6 separate regions of the Homo sapiens genome follow, and regions 2, 3, 4, 5 and 6 are each linked to region 1. The links are contacts of gene promoters, found by promoter capture Hi-C in blood cells and fetal thymus (Javierre and others, 2016). All regions are on one chromosome and are shown on one strand. Each heading gives the region's core, a stretch centred on a gene start or on the middle of the fragment in contact. The rest is flanking DNA. Distances are from core to core; before and after follow the strand shown.

Region 1 (4,175 bases), core at 1,410-3,909:
GATGGAATGCAGTGGTGCAGTGGTGAGATCACAGCTCACTGCAGCCTTGACCTCCTGGGCTCAAGTGATCCTCCCACCTCAACCTCTTAAGTAGCTGGGACCACAGGTGCATGCCACCACACCAACTAATTTTTTGCATTTTTTGTAGAGATGAGGTTTCACCATGTTGCCCAGGTGGGCTCAAACAATCCACCTGCCTCAGCCTCCCAAAGTGTTGGGTCACTGTGCCTGGCCAATATCATAGATATTAACAATAACAACAACAACAACAAAAACCCTGCCAAACAAAGCATTTTGTTAGCCACGGAATATTGACATCTTTATTTGTTTATTTATTTATTTATTTGAGATGGAGTCTCACTATGTTGCCCAGGCTGGTCTCAAATGCCTGGGCTCATGCAATCTTCCTGCTTTGGCCTCCCAAAGTGCTGGGATTACAGGTGTGAGCCACCGCACCCAGCCCAACTATCTTTAATTTGGCAGTTTAGACCTTCTGAAAACTCATTTCTTCTACCTTCACTTGTTTTTATTACATAAGTAATTGATAATGTATAAAGAAAAAAAGTGTGTCTTTCCCAAATTACATCTTAGTTGTGCACATTTCCCCCATGTAAACAGAGACATATAAGAAATGCATAAATATTTTTGTAAATGGTTGTATTATACTTACATTGTTGCACAACTTGTAATTTTTAAACTAGTTGTGAACCTTTTCCTTCTTAGCAAATATTCATCTAATTACCACTATTTATTGTTATTATTATTATTTGAGACAGGATCTTTCTCTGCTGCCCAGGCTGCAGTGCAGTGGAGATCACAGATGACTGCAACCTTGAAGTCATAGACTCAAGTGATTCTCGTGCCTCAGCCTTCCAAGTAGCTGGGACTACAGGCATGTGCTACCACACACAGCTAATTTTTAAATTTCTTTTGTAGAGACAAGGGTCTCACTATGTTGCTCAGGCTGGTCTGGAACTCCTGGCCTCAAGCAATCCTGCCTCGGCCTCCCAAAGTGCTGGGATTCCAGGGATGAGCCACCATGCTAGGCTCTAAATTATAATTATTAATGGCTATGTATTTTTCTTATTATGAATGCATCTTTTTTTTTTTTTTTTTTTTTTTTTGAGATGGAGTCTCGCACTGTCACCCCAGCTGGAGCGCAGTGGCGCGATCTCGGCTCACTGCAACCTCCGCCTGCTGGCTTCAAGGGATTTTCCTATCTCAGCCTCCTGAGTAGCTGGCATTACAGGCACCTGCCACCACGCCTACCTTTTTTTTTTTTTTTTTGTATTTTTAGTAAAGACGGGGTTTCACTATGTTGGTCAAGCTGGTCTCAAACTCCTGACCTCATGATCCGCCCGCCTCGGCCTCCCAAAGTGCTGGGATTACAGGTGTGAGCCACCGCGCCCAAACGAATGCATCATATTTTATTGGACTCCTACTTTGAAATATTTAGGAATTTTCAGTGTTTACTATGACAAATAGCACTGTGATTAAAAAAAAATGTAGTCAAATCCACTTTTGCTGTTGATTTTTTTTTTTTTAATCTGTAGAGACATCGTCTCGCTATGTTGCCCAGGCTGGTCTGGAACTCCTGGCCTCAAGCGATCCTCCTGCTTTGGCCTCCCAAAGTGCGTGGGCCACCGTGACCAGCAGTTATTTATTTTCTTTGGTTGTGTGTGTGTGTGTGTGTGTGTGTGTGTGTGTGTGTGTGTATGTATGTATTGAGACGGAGCTTGCTCTGTTGCCCAGGCTAGAGTGCAGTGGCACGATCTCGGTGCATGCAACCTTCACCTCCCGGGTTCAGGCGATACTCGTGCCTCAGCCTCCCGAGTATCTGGGATTACAGGCGTGAGCCACCATGCCCAGCTAATTTTTGTATTTTCAGTAGAGACGGGGGGTGCGGGTGGGGGAATTTCACCATGTTGACCAGGCTGGTCTCGACTCCTGACCTACGGTGATCCGCCTGCCTCGGTCTCCCAAAGTGCTGGAATTATGGGCGTGAGCCACCGCGCCGGGCCAGCTATTGATTTTTTGAAAGGATTTTTAAAAAATAATGTTGCTTTGAAAATTTTTATTTATGACTAGCTCTTTTGGTTAAAACTTGGCTATGGTTTCTCTGGAGTGATCCTGAGTTGGATAATTTTGGGAAAGTTAGAGAATCTAATTAAAAACATTTTCAAATGCTTATTAATTGTAACAAAAGAGATATCACAGGATCCATAAAGAGCGCTAGCCCGAAACGTCTTTTGATGCAGTAATTCCTGGGCACCGGCATCGCTCACATTCTCCTCTCAGAATTACACCGGGAGGGGTCGCGAACCTCTGCTAGCCGCTCTCGCTGCGATCCGGAGATACCCAGACACCGGACTCCTTGAGTTCACAGCCCGGATGCAGAAGGGAATCCTAGCAGCGCCGTACCGGATGTGTGAGTGGAAGTGACTGAGGTGAACTCACGACCGATTGGTTCTCCCGAGTGGACCCAAGCCTGTTTTCACCTGCCACTGGCCGCGTGGTTTGTCTATTTGAACAGTCCCCGCCCCCTGGAGAAGCCGGGTCCTGAAGCTTCTCTTCTTCATTACTATTGGCCTGTTTTTCAGTCCATCTTCTCCCTATACCTGTCGATTGGTCCTCAGGGCTGGGAACCCTCCTTCCCTCGCTCCCGGCTTAGAGGACAGCGGGGAAGGCGGGCGGTGGGGCAGGGGGCCTGAAGCGGCGGTACCGGTGCTGGCGGCGGCAGCTGAGGCCTTGGCCGAAGCCGCGCGGTGAGTCTAGGGCCTGGCACGACCCCTCTAGGGCGGCGTAATGTCCAGACCCACGGCCAGCCTGCCCGTGGGGGGGCCAGGGGAAGCCGCCCGTCTGGGACGTGGGGTCCCCACATTGCCGGCCCCACGACCTGGGCACCGTCTGAGGCCTTGACTCCCACCCCTCGAGGCAACGCCCACCTCCCCGGGACCCCCAAGAGACCCCTGGACCCTTCGGCCCGCGGTACGTCCGCCCGAAGGCCGGCCCATCAGCTCTGGTATTGCCCTTTGGGTCTTTTGCCTGTCACAGCCACCCTTTCTTTTGAGCCACGTATAAAAATTGTGTATCTCTGCCCCAGGGAACACTAGCGTCCGTGTCAGCCCCTTGTCCTCCACTGTGGACACCTCTCAGAGATCCAGTCCCCGAAACTGAGCTTGGTTACATCGTTGGGGTACATCTTCTCTCCCTCTCCCCCAGCCCCATCCCTGTTTCCCCCATCCAATCTTAACTTCCTTAAGCCCTATCAACACCATTAGGATATTTGACTTCAGATATCCTAAGTTTAATTGAATTCAGTCTGGAGCAGATGGCCTGTGGGCCTCAGATCATATAAAGATACACTGGTTCTTTCCTGAGAATAGAAATCCCTTGCCAGCCACCTTCCCCCCTTTCGGACGCACACACATACACACAAACTGGAGTAGTTTTCTTAGCAGGGATTCTTAAGTTTCTTCTCCCCTAAAGGATGACATTTCTTTCTGCAGTCTTCTTCTTGGCAGTGGAGTATTTGAAAGCTTTACAAAACCAATTATTCCCAGGTTTTTCCTCTGTGCCTTACAAATTCTTTCAAAAATAAGAATTTTGAGAAATTGGTTTTGTAGCATAAGCTGAACATACTTGGGATAGGTGTATGTTACACCCATGGCAGTGTGGGCATAATTGAGGAATGAGGGAATGAGCTCAGGAACTAATTGGTGTTTTTTGTTTTGTTTTGAGACGGAGTTTCGCTCTGTCGCCCAGGCTGGAGTGCAGTGGCTCGATCTCTGCTCACTGCAAGCTCCGCCTCCCGGGTTCCCGCCATTCTCCTGCCTCAGCCTCCCGAGTAGCTGGGACTACAGGCGCCCGCCACCATACGGCTAATTTTTTTTTTTTTTTGTATTTTTAGTAGAGGCGGGATTTCACCGTGTTGGCCAGGATGGTCTCGATTTCCTGACCTCGTGATCCGCCCGCCTCGGCCTCCCAAACCCGGCCAGGAACTAATTACTTTCTTTTAGCTTACATTTGAAGAGCTAGTCCCCTGTAGAACTGCGTTGTTCAGTACAAGAACCACCAGCCACATGTGGCTGTGGAGCACTTGAAATGTGACTAGTCCAGGCCGGGCATGGTGGCTCACACCTGTAATCCCAGCACTTTGGGAGGCCAAGGCGGGC
Region 2 (4,178 bases), core at 1,553-4,052, 790 kb after region 1:
GCAGCTCAAGGCTGGGGACTTCCCAAGGGTCCCGTCACCCTCCCCAACAAGCTCAAGTGGGACCAGAGGTGCTGGCAGGCGGGAAGTGGGGACCCGGGGGCACAGCCAAACACCAGAGCCCGGGCTCCGGAATGTGGTCAAAGAGGGGTCACCGGGGGGAGGGGCCGGGTGGGGAGGACCTGGGGAGGGGCGGGGCTCAGGAGGGGGCAAGAGGTCGGGGTCCCCAGCTTCGGAGACTCGGGGTCCCTACCCGGCTCCCAGCCGTATGCTGAGCGCCCCCTCCAGCCGGGGTCTCCGCCGCACAGCGGGGCAGTCCCACTCCCCTTACCTGGCTCGGCTGCTCTGCCTGCTCCGAGGACGCCATCTTTCTGAGGCCTGACTAATCAACCGCCGCTGGGCGAGGTTTCTCCCAGGCGCCCTCGCTCTCGCCCTCCCGCCCAGACTAAGGTAGCCGGAACAGAGCCTGTCGATGTAGGGGACTGGGGCAGAGGGGTGGAGCCCGGGTGTCCGGGTCACCTTGCATAGTTTCCGTTAAGACTCTGCTTTCCAGGAAGATCCCAAGTCTATATCTTCTTTGCGTTGTTATATGTGTATTATTCTGGTTTTGCTTTTTTTTTTTGAGACGGAGTTTCGCACTTGTTGCCTAGGCTGGAGTGCAATGGCGCGATATCGGCTCACCGCAACCTCAGCCTCCCGGTTTCAAGTGATTCTCCTGCCTCAGCCTCCCGAGTAGCTGGGATTGCAGGCATGCGCCACCATGCCCGGCTAACATTGTATTTTTAGTAGAGATGGAGTTTCTCCATGTTGGTCAGGCTGCTCTCGAACTCCCGACCTCAGGTGATCTGCCCGCCTCGGCCTCCCAAAGTGTTGGGATTACAGAAGTGAGCCACAGCGCCCGGCCCATATTATTCTTATTGAGTTAATCTCTGCCCATCCCCACAGTGCCATGGGCACATTTAGGGACTTGCCAATGGATGAATGCGAAGAAACTTGGAAATTAATTTTTAGACATCAGTTCAGTTCCATTCATTGAGTGCCTACTATATGCTAGGGACTTTGGTAGGCCTTGAAATAAAAACATTCAAGACTCAATCCCTACTCCCACGCCCAGGCCAAACACACTTACAATTACAGTATTATGGGGATAGGACTCGGATAAGTGTGCAGGTCTATTGGGAGAACATAAAAGGGGGCATTTTGAAGAGAAGAGGCTTCTACAAAACGTCATTATTTTACACTGGTTGAATTGTTAGATTTTTTTAATTGTTAGATTTTAAATTAAATATTGGACGGGAGCAGTGGCTCACACCTGTAATCCCAACACTTTAGGAGGCCAAGGCAGGAGGATCCCTTGAGCCCAGGAGGTTGAGGCTGCAGTGAACTATGATTATGCCACTGCACTCCAGCCTGGGCGACAGAGCGAGACCTTGTCTAAAAATAAGATAAGAAAATAAAAAATGAAATTATATGAAAAAGGATACATACATTAGAGTTAACCGCCAGCTCCTATTATAGTTGTGTTTTGATCAATATAGACTGCTTAAAAGGGATGACTTAATGAATAATTCCTCCTACTAAACGCTGTTTTAAATGTCTAAACTTTTCTTGAGATAATATCCAATTTCCTCTCCCACGTTTTTTTTGTTTGTTTTTGCTTTTGTTTTTGTTTTTGCTTGAGACGAAGTCTTGCTCCTGACGCCCAGGCTGGAGTGCAATGGTGCGATCTGGGCCGACTGCAACCTCCGCCTCCCGGGTTCAAGCGATTCACCTGCCTCAGCCTCCCAAGAGCTGGGACTACAGGCGTGCGCCATCACGCCCGGCTAATTTTTGTATTTTTAGTAGAGATAGGGTTTCACCATGCTGGCCAGGCTGGTCTCAAACTACTGACCTCAGATCATCTGTCCGCCTCGGCCTCCTAAAGTGCTGAGATTACAGGGGTGAGCCACCGCCCCCGGGGCCCTTGCCCACGTTTTTATAAACAAAATATGAGGTGGGAGGATTGCTTGAGCCCAGGAGATCAAAACTGCAGTGAGCCATCATCGCGCCACTGCACTCCAGCCTGGGAGACAGAGCGAAACGCTGTCTCAAAAAAAGAAAAAAGAAACAAGGAAGGAAAGTGTCCCCCGAATGAATAAATATGAGCAGATAATTACTTCTAGTTTACATAAAATGCCCTCTTTTAAGAGAGGAACTTTTTGATCATTTTTATTACTATTCTTTTAATCTTAGATGTTTATTTTTCAGGAGGAAAAAAACAAACTTTTCCATAGTAGCAGTATTAAAACAAAGATGAATATGTTGTCAAGAGGCATCTGAACAATCTCCAACAGTGCCGAGTCGCATTTCCCCTTTCCTCTCCGATGCATTTGAGACTTTAATGCTTACTATATTTATTTAAGCGTTTTGTTCTGAGACCCCAAACTAATTTGCACAGTTGAAGCAGGAAATAGAATGGGTGGAAACATGCGGGTGTCTGTATTAGCATTATGCATCTCATATGCGAATAGGAATGCTCTAAAAATTCAATACAGTATACATGCGTGTGCATCGTCATGCAAAATAAGTCTCTATTGGCCTTATATTTGAACGCGCGAATGCAGCTCCTAAAAGTTAAAAACAACTCCTAGGCTGAATCGCGCGATAGAACGAAAGCGGCTTTAAACCCAGAGACTACAGTTTCCGGCATGCTTCGACGCCACACGTGATTAGCGGCAACTAGAACTACATTTCCCGGCGTGCCCTGGTCTCACGTGTGATTTGCTGCGGAACGAACTACATCTCCCGGCAGGCTGCGGAAGGGGGTCGAGTAGAAGGACCGCCGCTCCGGCCTCCCGCGACTTCTCGAAGGTGGGCAGGTCCCACCTTGTGGAGGATGGAGGTGACCGGGGACGCCGGGGTACCAGAATCTGGCGAGATCCGGACTCTAAAGCCGTGTCTGCTGCGCCGCAACTACAGCCGCGAACAGCACGGCGTGGCCGCCTCCTGCCTCGAAGACCTGAGGAGCAAGGGTTGGCTCGGGACCCCGGGCGAGGGTGTGGGGGAGCCAGGGCCGGGTGAGGACGTCCGGCGGGGGCGAGGCGGGGTCAGGAGAGGCGACTTGGGGATTCTTGTATCTCGGGTGGAGGCTTGGGACAGAAACGGTCCGAGTGGGCATAGCGATTTACAGATTTAAGGCGCTTGAGCGTAATTAATCTCGTGTGAGACTCCACGGTGGTGGGAAGACAGCCAGGAAGCAATGTGCAAATTAAGCCAGACTCGGCTTAGGTCTCTTGCCTGAAATCACTTCGATGTTGGACCAAACGGACCCCACTGGGTTCCTGCCACTCCGCCACACTCAGATGGTACAAGAACCCCCAGCTGAGCCCACGGCGGTGTGGGGAGGGGTTTCCACCGTCCGCTCTGGCAGGAACCTATGCAGGAAAGAGGGAGCTGCTACTGACCATTTCTGGAGGTCCAGACAAGGAACGTGAGTTGTAAGTGACGGAGCCGACGGAAGTTCCGAGCCCGGCCCCATACCTTTACCAGCTGCTTGGCCTTGCACTTAACCAGCTCTCAACCCTCAGTTTTCTCATCAGCAAATTGGGTATAATATTTATAGCCCTGCTTCAAAGGGTTGTTGGTTCTCTCAAATAAGATGATATATTTAAGTGACTTACAAGTCTTATTAGCCAGTAGCAACAAATCGCTTACCCAAAGAAGTTTTACAGGTTACATGTGTGAGCCAGCCCCAGGCATGTAGTCACAGTGTGTGTCAGAGGGCACAGTTGCTTCCTCTCAGTCACCAACAGAAATCATATGGAAATTTTCAGAGACCCATGAACAGCCAAAGCATTATAAATGCTTTGGTAACATGGATTTTGCATATAAGCATTTATGTATTTTTTTTCCTGACATTAGATTACTTTACTTCTAATTCCCCTTCAGTGCCGTGGCTGGATGTGCGTGGCACAGAGGCTGGTGTTCTCTGCAGTCCAGCGCATACATGCCTTGCTGTTCTATTGGGTGGTAGACAACACCGCTGAAGGATATTTGTAGTCTCTTGGCTATTTCTGATCACTCCAGTCCCGTTAGTATTTGAAGCATTGCTATCACTAAATGGAATAGTACAGACCTGTCCTGGAGAAAGCCTCTCCGCCAATGATAATGATATGAAAAGCTACTGATAGAAGCTTCCACTT
Region 3 (4,027 bases), core at 276-2,775, 600 kb before region 1:
TCTTCTCCCCTCATAGACAGCTCCACTCCTCCAGCCTGCTGCTTGTTGACACCAATTCTCTGGAAGGGGAGTGACATCAGTCATATATGCTTTAGGGGGGTATTTAAGCTGCTATGACTCTTCTCAGGGGCATTTCTCTCCAAAGTCTCACTTCTAATCACCAGGCCACCTGCTAATGATAATTAGATCATGGGTGGTCAGATGAAGGAGGCACTGGGAGAGGGGAAATCCCCATATCTCTGGTATCCCAGCAAATAGATAACCATCATTCCAGCCATCCTTTTGTTTTCTTTCTTTCTTTCTTTCTTTCTTTCCTTCTTTCTTTCTTTCTTTTTTCGCTCTCTGTCAACCAGGCTGGAGTGCAGTGGCGTGATCTCAGCTCACTGCAACCTCCACCTCCTGGGTTCAAGTGATTCTCCTTCCTCAGCCTCCCGAGTAGCTGGGACTACAGGCGCCTGCCACCATGCCCAGCTAATTTTTGGTAATTTTAGTAGAGACGGGGTTTCACCGTGGTCTCGATCTCCTGACCTCGTGATCCGACCGCCTCGGCCTCTCAAAGTGCTGGGATTACAGGCGTGAACCACCATGCCCAGCCTATCCTTTTGTTTTCCATCCTGTGTTGGCTTGGTGGGGGAGAGGAGGTGTTGACACGTGGAGGACACACATATAAGGCATTCTTGGGTGACTTCGTCATCACTGGACCCTATCTCTCAAAATTCCAGCGAAATCTGCTCTTCCCTTTAAGGAGTGAAAGAAGGGTCAGCATTCCAGAAGTTCCTGGTCATACCCAGGCTTTTAATGAATTGCCACTGGGGAATCAGCATCCCGTTGCTGTAAGGACTATAAGATGGCGGATTGTGAGAGCATAGGGAAAGGTCTCGGAGGTCTCTTGTCCTTGCTCCACGCAGGTCTTTCTGGCCTGAAAATCCCGTTGAAGAGAGCAGCTCTTGAGAGTTTGCTCCAAGTTCCCTCGGGGTGATCAGCACCACGGACAGCGGCCAGGGCGCCCCCGAGGACCCGCAGGCAGGCAGGGTGCACAGCGGCGAGCAGGTGCTGCGCTACGTGCGGGCCAGGGAACTCGCGCGGGGAGGGGAGAGGCGCCGCGGGTGGCGGGGTCTTGGCCGGGGCTGTTTTCGCTGTGAGTCACCCCGTGCTCCCCGCGCTCACGTCGGTCCTCGGAAAGCCGGGGTCCTCCCTGCCTTTTCCAGCAACGGTGGGGTGGGGAGGCAGGAAGAAAGCGCCAACCTAGGACACCTGGACATTTGCAGGAAAGGAAGAAGCGGGAGACGGGGACTTGTCTGTGTCTCCAGCGCGTTCCTGCCCCCCGGCCCGACCCGGCCCATTTCTATACAAGGTCGGCTCTGCCCGGTCTCCACCTCCCACGTCGCAGGCGCGGAGGGGCTCATTCCCGGGCCCTGATCTCAGAGGCCCGGAATGTGGCTGATAAATCAGAGATAACCCTGCATGGCAGGGCAGGCCCGACACTCAGCTCCAGGATAAAAGGCCACGGTGTCCCGAGGAGCCAGGAGGAGCACCCCGCAGGCTGAGGGCAGGTGGGAAGCAAACCCGGACGCATCGCAGCAGCAGCAGCAGCAGCAGAAGCAGCAGCAGCAGCCTCCGCAGTCCCTCCAGAGACATGGATCCCCAGACAGCACCTTCCCGGGCGCTCCTGCTCCTGCTCTTCTTGCATCTGGCTTTCCTGGGAGGTCGTTCCCACCCGCTGGGCAGCCCCGGTTCAGCCTCGGACTTGGAAACGTCCGGGTTACAGGTGAGAGCGGAGGGCAGCTCAGGGGGATTGGACAGCAGCAATGAAAGGGTCCTCACCTGCTGTCCCAAGAGGCCCTCATCTTTCCTTTGGAATTAGTGATAAAGGAATCAGAAAATGGAGAGACTGGGTGCCCTGACCCTGTACCCAAGGCAGTCGGTTCACTTGGGTGCCATGAAGGGCTGGTGAGCCCAGGGGTGGGTCCCTGAGGCTTGGACGCCCCCATTCATTGCAGGAGCAGCGCAACCATTTGCAGGGCAAACTGTCGGAGCTGCAGGTGGAGCAGACATCCCTGGAGCCCCTCCAGGAGAGCCCCCGTCCCACAGGTGTCTGGAAGTCCCGGGAGGTAGCCACCGAGGGCATCCGTGGGCACCGCAAAATGGTCCTCTACACCCTGCGGGCACCACGAAGCCCCAAGATGGTGCAAGGGTCTGGCTGCTTTGGGAGGAAGATGGACCGGATCAGCTCCTCCAGTGGCCTGGGCTGCAAAGGTAAGCACCCCCTGCCACCCCGGCCGCCTTCCCCCATTCCAGTGTGTGACACTGTTAGAGTCACTTTGGGGTTTGTTGTCTCTGGGAACCACACTCTTTGAGAAAAGGTCACCTGGACATCGCTTCCTCTTGTTAACAGCCTTCAGGGCCAAGGGGTGCCTTTGTGGAATTAGTAAATGTGGGCTTATTTCATTACCATGCCCACAATACCTTCTCCCCACCTCCTACTTCTTATCAAAGGGGCAGAATCTCCTTTGGGGGTCTGTTTATCATTTGGCAGCCCCCCAGTGGTGCAGAAAGAGAACCAAACATTTCCTCCTGGTTTCCTCTAAACTGTCTATAGTCTCAAAGGCAGAGAGCAGGATCACCAGAGCAATGATAATCCCCAATTTACAGATGAGGAAACTGAGGCTCAGAGAGTTGCATTAAGCCTCAAACGTCTGATGACTAACAGGGTGGTGGGTGGCACACGATGAGGTAAGCTCAGCCCCTGCCTCCATCTCCCACCCTAACCATCATCACCCTCTCTCTTTCCCTGACAGTGCTGAGGCGGCATTAAGAGGAAGTCCTGGCTGCAGACACCTGCTTCTGATTCCACAAGGGGCTTTTTCCTCAACCCTGTGGCCGCCTTTGAAGTGACTCATTTTTTTAATGTATTTATGTATTTATTTGATTGTTTTATATAAGATGGTTTCTTACCTTTGAGCACAAAATTTCCACGGTGAAATAAAGTCAACATTATAAGCTTTATCTTTTGAAACTGATTTGTCTTGGCGCATTAAAAATAATCCCTCATTTCAAAGAAACCAACCCAACTAAAACCACAAAGCCCTGTGATCTCAAGGCATCTTCATGGTGGGATGAGGATGTGGCCTCAGAGGTAGCAGGCTTTCTTTTCTTTCAGAGTTTTTAATGCTCTGAAATGTTATTGAATATCTCAAGCACTTGAGGCACTTGGGAGAAACTGCTTTTCAAAGCAGGGCAGGATACGTGTGCAACCTGAGGGCACGTATCCAGCCGTTTTCTCCACTCGTCCTTGCTCTGCCTGGAATTCCACCATTAAAGCACTCTCCCTGGGGATTATTGCTTTCAGGTCTCAGCTAAAATGTCAACGACTGGGGGCAGTGTGTGTGGGTGTGGCTCATCTACATTCCCATACCGGGGTGAGCCCTCCATCCTGCCCCAAATATCAGCTTTGAAACTCCAATTCCTGGGGTCATCCTGCAAAGGAGCCTTCAAAACTCCAACCCACAAAGTGAGAGGGGTCTGGCAATCAGCCCAGCTTTCCAGGGTGCCCCTCCCCTGGGGCTGCATCATCTCTTCTCTTTGCCTTAACCAGTGGGGAGGCTGTCTCTCCTATGGGTCCCCTTCCCACACACCCTGCAATCCAGGCCTCCGCAGTGCTGAGTTCCTCTCCTTTCAGATTCCTGGGAAGGGCCTCATGTCATTCGCTTTCTCACAATGCCATTTATAATTCCAGCTCAGCTGAGGGGTAAGGCACCATGAGGTCCACTATTATTATGTCCATTTTCCAAATGGGAAAACTGAGACCCGGGAAAACTGAGACCCTGGAAAACCAAGCGTCCTATCCAAGAGCACACAGCGACTAAGCGCTGGTGTGGGAACTGAGCGGAGATCCAGGTGACTCTTGAGCCTGTGCTCTCTGACTCTTGAGCCCCACACTCCTGCCCTTGAACTTCACTCTCAAGTCTTTTCTGATGTTCTCATCAGATGTTTCTTTGAATGAGAGTGACCTAGAGGGTGGAACTTT
Region 4 (4,048 bases), core at 23-2,522, 660 kb before region 1:
CCACGCCCAGCTAATTTTTGCATTTTTATTTTTTTATTTTTATTTATTTATTTTTTTTTTTTTGAGACAGAGTCTCCCTCTGTCACCCAGGCTGGAGTGCAGTGGCGCGATCTTGGCTCACTGCAAGCACCGCCTCCCGGGTTCACGCCATTCTCCTGCCTCAGCCTCCCGAGTAGCTGGGACTACAGGCGCCTGCCACCACGCCTGGCTAATTTTTTATATTTTTAGTAGAGACAGGGTTTCACCGTGTTAGCCAGGATGGTCTCGATCTCCTGATCTCGTGATCTGGCGGCCTCGGCCTCCCAAAATGCTGGGATTACAGGCGTGAGCCACCGTGCCCAGCCTAATTTTTGTATTTTTAGTAGAGACAGGTTTTCACCATGTTGGTCAGGCTGGTTTCGAACTCCTGACCTCAAGTGATTTGCCCATCTCAGCCTCCTAAAGTGCTGGAATTACAGACGTGAGCCACCACTCCTGGCCTCTGGTGGTTCCCCTTCCCCTCCTCCTCCCTTTTCCTTTCTTCTTCTTTCTTCCTCTTCTTCTCTCTCCTTTTTTTTTCCTCCACTTTTTCGTATTGTTCCAAGTGTTTTTTTGCAGTGAGGATAGTCTTTTTTTTTTTTTTTTTTTTTGAGACAGAGTCTCACTCTGTCGCCCAGGCTGGAGTGCAGTGGCGTGATCTCGGCTCACTGCAAGCCTGCAACCTCCGCCTCACGGGTTCAAGCAGTTCTCCTACCTCAGCCTCCTGAGGAGCAGGGATTACAGGCATGCGCCACCACGCCCGGCTAGTTTTTGTATTTTTAGTAGAGATGGGGTTTCACCATGTTGGTCAGGCTGGTCTCAAACTGCTGACCTCGTGATCCGCCCGCCTTGGCCTCCCAAAGTGCTGGGATTACAGGCGTGAGCCACCGCGCGCGGCGAGAGGATGGTCATTTTTACAGAAACAAAGTTGTTGTGTGTGTGTGTGTGTATGTTTTTAAATTTTGGGGCTGTTGAATCCATCAGTAGCAAAGGGGCCCAACACGTGTTCGGTTTGGCTGGCTCGATGTTTTTTTCACGAGTGAATTGGATGCTTCCAGTCCTCCCCAGACCCCTGCACTTAACTCCACTGGACTTCACTCTTCCGGCCTGGGAACGAGTGGTCCCGCCCCCGGCAGCTTTTGTCCCGCCCTCGCCGTGGCTCCGCCCCCTTCTCTCCGGCCTGCTCTCTCTCCTCCCTCCGCCCTCCCGTTTTCCATCTGTCGTAAAAGACACGGCGACGCTTGACCGCCGGCGTCGTTTGACGGCTGGAGGCCACCGAGAAGAAGGAGGAAGCAGGGGTGGCGGCTGCTGCGGCGGTTGCGGCGGGGGCCGGGGTGGGCGCCGCGGTCCGGGCCGGGCAGTGAGGCGCGGGCGGCCGGGCCGGTGGGCTGGGCGGCGGGCCCGGCGGCCGCCCTCGCACCCTTGCCCGCGCCTGGCGGCCCGATGTGGCTGCAGCAGCGGCTCAAGGGGCTGCCGGGACTGCTGTCGAGCAGCTGGGCCCGCCGCCTCCTCTGCCTGCTTGGCCTCCTGCTGCTGCTTCTGTGGTTTGGGGGGTCCGGCGCGCGGCGGGCGGCGGGCGGCCTGCACCTGCTGCCCTGGTCCCGCGGTGAGCCGGGCGCCGCCGAGCCGTCTGCCTGCCTGGAGGCGGCCACCCGCGCCTGGCGCGGCCTGCGGGAGCGCGGTGAGGTGGTACCGCTGGGTCCTGGAGTGCCGGCCCTGGTGGCCAACGGCTTCCTGGCCCTGGACGTGGCTGCCAATCGGCTGTGGGTGACTCCCGGGGAGCGGGAGCCCGCCGTGGCGCCGGACTTTGTGCCCTTCGTGCAGCTGCGCCCGCTGAGCGCGCTGGCTGAAGCTGGAGAGGCGGTGCTGCTGCTGCGGGAGGGGCTTCTGCGCCGCGTGCGTTGCCTGCAGCTGGGGTCCCCAGGTCCTGGCCCCGTGGCCGCCGGCCCCGGGCCCGCCTCCGTCTCTGGCCTTGCCGCGGGGTCCGGCCGCGACTGCGTGCTGCTGCAAGAGGACTTTCTGGCGCACAGGGGCCGACCCCACGTCTACCTGCAGCGCATCCAGCTCAACAACCCCACGGAGCGCGTGGCCGCGCTGCAGACTGTGGGGCCCACTGCCGGCCCAGCCCCCAAGGCCTTCACCAGTACCCTGGAGAAGGTCGGAGACCATCAGTTCCTCCTCTACTCAGGCCGGTCCCCGCCTACGCCCACTGGGTTGGTGCACCTGGTGGTGGTGGCCGCCAAGAAGCTGGTGAACCGCCTCCAAGTGGCTCCCAAGACGCAGCTGGATGAGACGGTGCTGTGGGTGGTGCACGTCTCTGGCCCCATTAACCCCCAGGTGCTCAAAAGCAAAGCAGCCAAGGAGCTCAAGGCGCTGCAGGACTTGGCACGGAAGGAAATGCTGGAGCTCTTGGACATGCCAGCGGCGGAGCTGCTTCAAGACCACCAGCTCCTCTGGGCTCAGCTCTTCAGCCCAGGTGAGTCCTGGCCAGCGCTTGGTCCACCCTAGATATGTCCCTCCCAAGTCTGCAGAGGTGACACTGAAGGTGATGGTGGGGTGGTTGAAACTTGGGCTTGGCGTTTCACCAGTGGTTGAATCTGCTCAACTGCTTAGTGTCTGTGCGACCTTTGGATTCGTCGCCTAATCTCTCTGGGCCTGTATTTAATAACAATAACGCCTACCTCAGAAGGTTTTTATGAGACTGTAGTGGACAATTGAGTGTAAAGGTCAATTCTTTCTGTTACTTGTTTTGGTAGATGGGGCCTGATGTGAGCAGAGTGAAGTGTTTTAGAGTCAGTTTGCAGAGGTGAAACCAGCAGGTGGATCCCCTGATTCTTTGCTCAGCACCGCAGTCGGCCTGGTGACAGACGTGGGCTTCTTGACATAACCCCTGCTAGGCTGAGGTGCGTCCTGGCAGTTGTGGCTGCAACTGGTTCACAGGGAGGTTGGAGAATCCCTTTTAGCAGGTTGAGATGCTCCCGCCCGATGAAAACTCTCCTCTCGTTGACTGTTAAAGAAAAGAAAATCCTGTTCTGGATGAGAGAGGGGTTTTGGTTTCCAGGGTTCCAATTGTCTGAACCTTTGTGTTTGGTTGCTCAGAGAGTTGAGTTCATTCAGCAAGTATCTATTGAATGCTTCTGCCAGGGCTGTTCTATGCATGGGGGGGTGCAGATGGGAACCAGAGTTCCTGTTCTCATGGTGCTTGCTTAAATTCTGGTTGGGAGGAAGACAGACATTAGAAAAGTGAAAATTAAAATTAAAATAAGGCATCTTTTTAGGCTAGAATGTGCTGGCTGGGCGCGGTGGCTCACGCTGTAATCCCAGCACTTTGGGAGGCTGAGGCAGGTGGATCACCTGAGGTCAGGAGTTCAAGCCAACCTGGCCAACGTGGCGAAACCTTGTCTCTACTAAAAATACAAAACTTAACCTGACCTCATGATCCGTCCACCTTGGCCTCCCAAAGTGCTGGGATTACAGGCGTGAGCCACCGCGCCCGGCGAGAGGATGGTCATCTTCACAGAAACAAAGTTGTGTGTGTGTATGTTTTTAAATCTTAGGGCTGTTGAATCCATCAGTAGCAAAGGGGCCCAGCACGTGTTTATTCAGCAAGTGTCTATTGAATGCTTCTGCCAGGGCTGTTTTAGGCATGGGTGGTGGCCTGCACCTGTAGTCCCAGCTACTCAAAGGCTGAGACGGGAGAATCACTTGAACCCGGGAGGCGGAGGCTGTAGTAACCTGAGATCGTTCCACTGCACTCAAGCCTGGGCAACACAGTGAGACTCTGTCTCAATAAACAAATAAATACATACATACATAAAGCTACAAGACTGGAGAGAGAAAGGACAGAGAGGAGAAGTGGCCTGAGACTGGCCTCAGCACTGGTGACTGATCTGGCGCAGGATGTCTGACCATAGGGTTGGTGCCAAGTCCTGGCTAAGTCTGTGTTCCTCTGGGCTCTGGCACCAGGCCCCGCTGCTTTTTAACAGGATTCTAGATTTCAGGCCCACAGGCTCAAGTTGGTCGTGTAAAC
Region 5 (4,180 bases), core at 1,092-3,591, 720 kb before region 1:
TAAGACCAGAAATGAACCCAGTTCTAAATGGAAACTGCTATTAGCCCTCCAAGGTGGTCAACAGCTTTGCCTCAACCTAGGCTATTCGTTGAGGAGTATTAGGTATCTTGGGTGTAGAGACAGCAGTAGCAAAATTCACTGCAAGGTGTGTTTGGATCCCAAGCACAGTCCCTGAATCCACACCACCTCCTTACCCAGTGTTATGTACAGCAACTCCTAGCAGGGAAAATAAAATGGATCCACGGATCGTCTGCTGGCACAACTGGAAAAGAGGAGAAGCTGAGAAATCGAAACAAAAAGAGTATACAGGGTAAAGGGGACAGAGCAGAGTCTTAAAAGAGCAGTGACAAGGAGCCAACCTGTGCTGGGCCGAGATGGGGAAGAGCCAGCACAGCAGAGACCAAATGAGGGAGACAGAGACTAACTCTTCAGGGAGCCCAAGAGATCCCAGCCACTTCTGAACTGTCAACTTTTAAACAGGCTCTCTAAGCAACCAGCGAAATCCTTCACGGAAGTAAAAGATACGGTAGTTTTTCAACACAAGTTAGAAAGCTGTGGCTCTATACAAAGAGGATGCCATTCAAGAGACTTGCCACCAGAGGTCCAGGAGAGCACACCCCTGTCCACTCAGCTCAAATCCAGGGTGCCAGAAGTCACAGCTACTACTTACTTTTTTGGATGGTGAGAGATCTTCACAGGGTAGGCATCATGGACATGGCTGAAGTCCAAAAGACAAAAAGATTCTGAGTTCTCTTCTGTCCTGTCTCAGGTTGAGGTTGGCTATTGATTGACTGTGTTGACTCCACCAGTCCTGACTTATTAGAAAAGAAAAGGGAGATGGATCCGGTGTCCAAAAAAAAAAAACACTGGTGTACAAAACATGTCTAATCAGGTTTCAAGCCAAACAAACTCATCCCTGAGGGAAGCTTACTCATTGAGGTATTGGGGAGTTGCGCTGGCATGTGAGGAAGTGCCCTGGGGAAAAAAACGCAGAGGTGTGGGACCAATCCTGACTGTGCACACGTATTCCGCCATGTGCGGGTTTGAGGCACCACGGAGGTCCCTGCAGGAGCCCTGGGAAAGGTACATCCAGAGAGGGGAGAAGAGGACAGAGCAAAACTAGGAACAAAACTGGGCTTGAGGACTGTGGAACAGCTGACTATTGAGGAACAGAAGAACTGACTGAAAGCCAATGTGTTCAGCTACTGTAAAGTATCTCACTTAATTCTCTATTCTGTGGGACAGAGGGCTGGAATACTTGAAGATTTGTCTAAGCTGGGATCTGAAATATTAGCTCCCTTTGACTCCAAAGCTCCTGGAGTGCAGCAGCGCGATCTCGGCTCAACCTCCGCCTCCCGGGTTCAAGCGATTCTCCTGCCTCAGCCTCCTGAGTAGATGGGATTACAGGCGTGTGCCAGCAAGCCCGGCTAGTTTTTGGTTTTAGCACAGACGGGGTTTCACCATGTTGGCCAGGCTGGTCTCCAACTCCTGACCTCAGGTGATCCGCCCGCCTCAGCCTCCCAAAGTGCTGGGATTACAGGTGTGATCCACTGCGACCGGCCTCCTTCCTTTTTTAACTACATTGAGCTGCCTTCCTCCCCCAAGCCCCAAACCTTGGGACACCAGAGGCGGATAACCAGAGCCCTTTTCTGGGTAGAAAAGAGATAACCAGAGCCCTTTTCTGGGTAGAAGAGAGAGAGATGATTGAGAATTTAAAGAGGGCAATGAAGGATTACGAGAGGGGGTAACGGGCAGTTCTGCCTTCGTGCGTCTTAACAGCTATTTATTCAACATTTTCTGTGTGCCTTCTCTGTGTGTGTCAGGCGCCACGTTAGAAATGGATAAGAAACAGTCCTGCCCTCCAGGGCCTTACAGTCCGGTGAGAAGTCATATAAGTAAACAGGGCTGAACGAGAAGGCAGTAACTGCCCAAAGTGGGGATGGCAGGGCGCTCCCGCGGTGAACGTGGACACCTATCAGGTGCTGAGTAAATGCTGGCAAAATGAAGACAGGATGAAAAATAGAGAAGGGGCAGGGGTAGAACATGGCCGTGAAGGGTGGAAAGGCGGGGGCGATGAGAAGCTACAGGGGACCCCACCGACCAGTCCCAGGTCCCGTGGCCCGCCCCCTCCTCTCAGGGCCGGGGAGGGCCCGGCGGCGAGGCCGGAGAGTGGGGACCCCGCTTGACTGCATCCCAGACCCCCGTGGCCCCAGAATCCCGTCGGCCCACGCCGAGCTGCTCAGGACTCGCCGGGCCGGGCCGGGCCAGTCCCCGCCACCCCGGCTTGCTCGCCCTCTCACCTTCACCTTCCCGGCCTCGCGGCGGCCATCACACTCACTACGTCACCAGCGAGCGCCACCCCAGGGGGAGGCGGGAGGAGGGAAGTGGATAAGCGCGTCACCAGTCGCCTCAGATTGCCCCTCGACCCGGGTGAGCTGGTGGACCCTGAGCCCAGCCGGCTCGCCCCGCCTACTCCTTACGCCTCTGCTGCCCCGCGACTCGGCGCTTCGAGCGGCGTCTCAGCGCGCCACTCCTCCGCGCGCCACTCCTCCGCCGGCGCGTCCCAAGCGGACGACGCAGAGGCTCGGACTCCCACTGCATCATGGGGGCTGTAGTTCCGGTGGGCGTCGGCCGGAGCTGGGGGGGCGGGGCAAAGCGGGGCGGAGCCTCAAGCTGTCAAGGGGCGAAAAACCAAGGGCGTGGAGTAGAGGTTCCCGCTTTTTCGCCGGTTGTCCTAGAGCCTGACCCTGGGGCCTCTGCCAGCTCTGGAATCCAGATTTGCATTCTGTAATCTTAGAGGAGTGTTCTCTAGAGGGCCAGGCCTAGGGTGAAGTGACTCATCGGGCAGACAGAAGCGAGCATGGGCCTGCTGCCCTTCAGTCGCCTTTGAGGAAAGAAGAGCAGCAACAACGGCGAATCAATGCCAGTGACTGAACTGCGTCTCTAACATCCACCGCTGTATTTAACGTCCACAGCAGTCCCAGGAGAGGGAGAGGAGAGGTTACCCAAGCTCACATGGTTACCCAGATCACCGGGCCCCAGTGATGCGGCAGACACTACTAGGAAACCGCAGCAAACAGATCCCTTGCAGGACTTGGCCTCCGCAGAGAAGGCTCCAAGCCTGAGCGCGCCAGAACAGTAGGCACTAGCCACGTGTGGCTCTCGAGTCCTGAGCCAGTGCAAACGGAGATGCGCTATAAGACTTAGGACAAAAAAGGCTGTTAAACTATCTCAATTTTTAGGAAAAAAAAATATCGACCGGGCGCGGTGGCTCAAGCCTGTAATTCCAGCATTTTAGGAGGGCGAGGCGGGTGCATCGGGAGTTCAAGACCAGCCTGGCCAACATGGTGAAACCCCGTCTGTACTAAAAATACAAAAATTAGCCAGGCATGATAGTGCACTCGGGAGGAAGAGGCAGGAGAATCGCTTGAACACGGGCGGTGGAGGTTGCAGTGAGCCGAGATCATGCCACTGCACTCCAGCCTGGGCAACAGAGACTCCGTCTCAAAAAAGAAAAAAAAAATCTATCTTTGAGCCAGAGTCTCACTCTCACTCAAGCTGGAGTGCAGTGGTGCAATCACGGCTCACTGCAGCCTCGAACTCCTGGGCTCAAGTAATCCTCCCACCTCACTCAGCCTCCCAAGTAGCTGACCACAGATGCTGCAGCCATGCCTAGTATTTATCTTTTGTAGACATGGGGAAGCATTTCACTTTGTTACCCAGGCTGGTGTCCTGAACTCCTGGACTCCTGGAGTCAAGCAATCTTCTCCTGCCTCGGCTTCCCAAAATGCCGGGTTACAGGTACCTGCCACAGTGCAGGGCTATTAGCCCATTACTATTTATATGCTGACTACATGTTGAAGTGATAATATTTTGGGTCATTTGGGTTAAATACATTACTAAGATTAATTGCACCTGTTTCTTTTTAAAAATGTCGCTACTAGAAAATTTAAAATTACATAAGTAGCTTGCATTTGTGGGTCAAACTGTAATTCTGTGGGATGGTGCTGCTCTATAACCATGGTAGAACAACCTCAATTTATTGCCACAAACAACCTCAAGAGGCAAATCAGTACTCTGATATAGAAGTGACTGGTTTATCAGTCTCATGACGATGGCCAAAGGGAGCTGTCCTGCCCACACTGCCCTCTGAGTAGCCTAGTGCCCCGCGGGTCTGACT
Region 6 (3,987 bases), core at 1,483-3,982, 560 kb before region 1:
GCAAATGAGAGCCTGTGAGCCCAGACCACCAGCTCCCTCCTGGTTTTACACGGCCTGAGAACTAAGACTGGCTTTTACGTTCTTAAATGCACACATGTAAATAGTTACATAAACATCTACATAAGAGCTTCCATTCTGATTCTTGGCCCACAAAGCCTTAAATATTTACTATCTGGCTGTTGACACAAAAAGCTTGCTAATTTTGACAAAAGCTAATTCCACAAGCTAAATTCCAAATCCCAAAACTGAAGAGTGTGTTTGTCAGGTATCTGAATGGTAACATACGAACAGTGTCTGCATTTAAAAACAGCCCATCAACAAAAAGTGCAGACATCAGCTGTTTGAGGCTGGGCCCTGCAGTCCAAATCTAATAACTGAAATACATCATGCTTCTTGTCGTCTCTGCCCTTTGAGTATTTGAAGGATACAAGTTGGACCCTTCTTACCTCCAGCCACACTGAACAGCACTCCAAGGACCTTGCAGAGCAGGGTCCGGAGACGGACGATTCCTGGCACCTTTACGCCATTCAGATAGCATTTGACCTCGGGTATCCCGGAACCTGCTGCCACCGGCTGATGGAGGAGAGCAGGCACACCCATAACTCGAAATCCATTGGTTCTCTGGCTTACCCTCAACAATCTGGGCGGCGGAAGAGGGAGAGCTGGCCACCTTCATTAGCAGCGTGAGCGTCACCTGGAGGGCTTGCAGAACCACAGCTGCTGGGCCCCACTCCAGAGGATCTGACTCAGGAGGTCTGAGGGGCAATGGGAGGACTTGCACTTTTTTTTCTTTTTTTTTTTTGAGGTAGAGTTTCACTCTTGTTGCCCAGGCTGGAGTGCAATGGCACAATCTCCACTCATTGCAACCTCCGCCTTCTGGGTTCCAGCAATTCCCCTGCCTCAGTCGCCCGAGTAGCTGGGATTACAGGCATGCGCCACCACGCCCGGCTAATTTTGTATTTTTACCGGCTAATTTTGTATTTTTACTAGAGACAGGGTTTCTCTACACTGGTCAGAATGGTCTCAAACTCCCGATCTTAGGTGATCTGCCCGCCTTGGCCTCCCAAAGTGGCCAGACTTGCACTTTTTAAAGAAAAATAATTTCCACTTTTATTTTAGGTTCAGGGATTGCATGTACAGGTATGTTACGAGGGTATATTGCATGATGCTGAGGTTTGGGACATGAATGATCCTGTCACCCAGGTAGTGCGCATGGCACCCAACAGTTTTGTTTTCAGCCCTTTCCCCCTTTTTTCCTCCCCCCAGAATCTGTACAAGTTCCCTGTGAATGAGCATCACCTGGGAGGCCTTTCTTCTTTAATCTCACCAGAGGTGAAACCTTTACCTTTAGTGAACAAGAGGCCACTTTCTGCAGGAATCTGCATTCTCAGTTTCCTGACATTCTGGAAGGAGGTGGGGAAAAGGAGTGCGGGACTCTAAAACCTCCTAAGCGAGCAGGTGAATCCAAACCACCTCACCTCAATGAGAACAAGGAGGCTTGCCAGGAAGACAAAGGTGAGGTTAAAACCCAGGAGTTCAAGGAGAGACAGAGCGAGGCAGCCTTTCTGGCTGCACTCCTCCACCGCTGCGGAAACTGGGTTAAGGAAACTTGTTCATCAGCCGAGGGGTGTCCCCGTCATCACTTGAGAGGGTGCAGCTGCTTCTCCTTTGGATCATGCTGGCTGCTGAGTGCACTTTTTCTCTATATATAAAAATTTTTTAAAAACTGCCTGAGATGACTGGGTGCAATGGCTCATGCCTGTAATCCCAACACTTTGGGAGGCTGAGGCAGGAGGATCACTTGAGCCTAAGAGTTGGAGGCCAGCCTGGGCAATGTAGTGAGACCATGTCGCTACAAAAAGTACAAAAGGTATATGCCTATGGTCCCAGCTACTCAAGAAGCTGAGGTGGGAGGATCGCTTGAGCCTGGGAGGCTGAGGCTGCAGTGAGCTGTCATTGCACCACTGCATTCCAGCCTAGGCAACAGTGTGAGGCCTCATCTCTTAAAAAAAAGAAAAAATTGTTTGAGATGCCTTTGACATTAGGAAATACTTCAAACATTACAAAAAGTAACGAATACCCATACCCTCACAACTGTAGCTTTAACAAATCTCAACAACATGCCATATATGCTCCAGGTATTTTTAAAAAAGAAAACATTCAGTACCATTTTAAGAAACAAAACAAAACAAAAAAAAAAACAGTTTTCCTTCCTCTCTCCCCTGGGAGAAACCACTAACCTGAAATTATTGTGTGTATTTCAAAAGTGTCCACACTGTTGTACACGGCACTTGTATATTCTGTAACTTGCTCTTTTTTTCTCAACATTAAGTCTTTGAGAATTAGCCATGTTGATACACACAACTCTGTGGTTCGTTCACTTTCACTTGTCTAAAATTTTTATTTTACAATCTACAGAAATGACATGATGTCTAAAATGATACCATATGAATGTACCATAATTTTTCCATTCTCCCATTTGGTGACTCCAGCTTTTTGCTATCATAAAGCTATAATTACCACCTTTGTACATGTCTACGGTTCAAATTTCTAAGAGGAATGTATGAGTCACAGGAATGTGCACCTTCCTTTTTCTAGAGGTTTACTGGCCAGTTTTTCTCTTTTGAGAATTCCAGTTCACATCCTTTGCTCGTTTTCCTTCCATTGGACCATCTGTTGTTTTTCTGATTGAGTTGCAGGAGTTCTTCCTGTATTATTTGTTCTGAATCAGAGTCTCATTCTGTCACCCAGGCTGGAGTACAGTGTTGCAATCTCGGCTCACTGCAACCTCCGCCTCCTGGGTTCAAGTGATTCTCCTGCCTCTGCCTCCCAAGTATCTGGACTAAAGGTGCACACCACCACACTCAGCTCAATTTGTATTTTTAGTAGAGACAGGGTTTCACCATGTTGGCCAGGCTGGTCTTGAACTCCTGACCTCAAGTGATCCGCCTGCCTCGGCCTCCCAAAGTGCTGGGATTACAGGCGTCAGCCACCGCGCCCAGCCTCTTCCTGTATTCTGGATACTAATTATCTGCCTCTTAAATGCATAGTAAATAACCTCTCTCAGGCTGTGGACTTGTTTTCACTTTATTTATGGTGTTTTATTGTTGTTATTTGGAGTTTTTGTCTTTATAAATACAATATGTACTTTGATGTGGTCAAATTTATTGATTTTGTTTGTTTTTTTTTTTTGTTGTTGTTTTTTGAGACAGTTTTGCTCTCATTGCCCAGGCTGGAGTGCAATGGCGCGATCTCGGCTCACTGCAGCCTCTGTCTCCCGGGTTCAAGCGATTCTCCCACCTCAGCCTTCCAAGTAGCTGGGATTACAGGCACCCGCCACCATGCCCAGCTAATTTTTTGTACTTTTAGTAGAGATGGGGTTTTGTCATGTTAGCCAGGCTGGCCTTGAACTCCTGACCTCAGGTGATCTGCCTGCCTCGGCCTCCCAAAGTCCTGAGATTACAGGCATGAGCCACTGCACCCAGCCATTGATGTTTTTGTTTGTTTGTTTTTGAGACGGAGTCTTGCTCTGTCACCCAGGCTGGAGTGCAGTGGCGTGATCTTGGCTTACTGCAAGCTCCGCCTCCCAGGTTCATGCCATTCTCCTGCCTCAGCCTCCCCAGCATCTGGGACTACAGGCGCACACCGCCACGCCCAGCTAATTTTTTTGTATTTTTAGTAGAGACGGGGTTTCACCGTGTTAGCCAGGATGGTCTCAATCTCCTGACCTTGTGATCCGCCTGCCTCTGCCTCCCAAAATGCTGGGATTACAGGCGTGAGCCACTGTGTCCGGCCCCATTGATGTTTTTTCTTATAGTCTGTGCCTTCTGGAGTTTTAAGAAATTATTCCCCACTCTTGACAACATATAGTCTCCCGAAGTTTTGTTCTGCATATTTACATCTTCATCTGGAATTTATCTTATTTATAGTATGAAATAGGAATATAACTATTTTTCCATATGGATCACCCATGTCCCAGCATCATTT

The links. The method cuts DNA at HindIII sites, captures the fragments that hold promoters and counts their contacts. A CHiCAGO score of 5 or more calls a contact.
Region 2: the fragment with the promoter of DFFA here is called in contact with the fragment with the promoter of MTOR in region 1 in 10 of 17 cell types (fetal thymus, total B cells, M1 macrophages and 7 more); the score reaches 9.7 in fetal thymus.
Region 3: a contact is called between the fragment with the promoter of NPPB here and the fragment with the promoter of MTOR in region 1, in 5 of 17 cell types (endothelial precursors, naive B cells, total B cells and 2 more). The highest score is 7.1, in endothelial precursors.
Region 4: a contact is called between the fragment with the promoter of KIAA2013 here and the fragment with the promoter of MTOR in region 1, in 9 of 17 cell types (fetal thymus, monocytes, non-activated CD4 T cells and 6 more). The highest score is 10.8, in fetal thymus.
Region 5: the fragment with the promoter of MFN2 here is called in contact with the fragment with the promoter of MTOR in region 1 in 7 of 17 cell types (fetal thymus, total CD8 T cells, total B cells and 4 more); the score reaches 12.1 in fetal thymus.
Region 6: a contact is called between a fragment that was not itself captured here and the fragment with the promoter of MTOR in region 1, in 1 of 17 cell types (naive B cells). The highest score is 5.8, in naive B cells.

What each region holds. Positions count from the first base shown.
Region 1 is chr1:11,261,035-11,265,209 of GRCh38, reverse strand. It overlaps MTOR (mechanistic target of rapamycin kinase), which reads left to right and starts at 2,659. Exons shown (of 58, transcript NM_004958.4): 1 at 2,659-2,765. RefSeq lists an enhancer at 2,312-2,471 and a silencer at 2,892-2,941. The HindIII fragment of the contact is 974 bases long and covers 2,568-3,541 here.
Region 2 is chr1:10,471,153-10,475,330 of GRCh38, reverse strand. DFFA (DNA fragmentation factor subunit alpha) reads left to right here and starts at 2,802. Exons shown (of 6, transcript NM_004401.3): 1 at 2,802-3,008. The coding sequence starts at 2,873. It overlaps PEX14 (peroxisomal biogenesis factor 14), which reads right to left and starts at 381. Exons shown (of 9, transcript NM_004565.3): 1 at 329-381. The coding sequence starts at 364. RefSeq lists a silencer at 125-294 and enhancers at 295-484, 307-1,272, 3,234-3,333. The HindIII fragment of the contact is 4,411 bases long and covers 1-4,171 here.
Region 3 is chr1:11,856,443-11,860,469 of GRCh38, reverse strand. It overlaps NPPB (natriuretic peptide B), which reads left to right and starts at 1,525. Exons shown (of 3, transcript NM_002521.3): 1 at 1,525-1,768; 2 at 2,001-2,256; 3 at 2,799-3,006. The coding sequence starts at 1,637. The coding sequence ends at 2,815. RefSeq lists a silencer at 960-1,126. The HindIII fragment of the contact is 3,284 bases long and covers 1-3,003 here.
Region 4 is chr1:11,923,651-11,927,698 of GRCh38, reverse strand. KIAA2013 reads left to right here and starts at 1,272. Exons shown (of 3, transcript NM_138346.3): 1 at 1,272-2,494. The coding sequence starts at 1,462. RefSeq lists enhancers at 1,053-1,347, 1,002-1,665, 1,666-2,328 and a silencer at 1,348-1,417. The HindIII fragment of the contact is 9,969 bases long and covers 1-4,048 here.
Region 5 is chr1:11,978,605-11,982,784 of GRCh38, reverse strand. MFN2 (mitofusin 2) reads right to left here and starts at 2,341. Exons shown (of 19, transcript NM_014874.4): 1 at 2,301-2,341; 2 at 671-815. RefSeq lists an enhancer at 500-599 and silencers at 2,056-2,295, 2,466-2,725. The HindIII fragment of the contact is 7,841 bases long and covers 929-4,180 here.
Region 6 is chr1:11,820,293-11,824,279 of GRCh38, reverse strand. It overlaps CLCN6 (chloride voltage-gated channel 6), which reads right to left. Exons shown (of 23, transcript NM_001286.5): 6 at 1,479-1,585; 7 at 447-573. Among named protein-coding and RNA genes, the nearest start is that of CLCN6, 16 kb to the right of the region's middle. The HindIII fragment of the contact is 5,075 bases long and covers 195-3,987 here.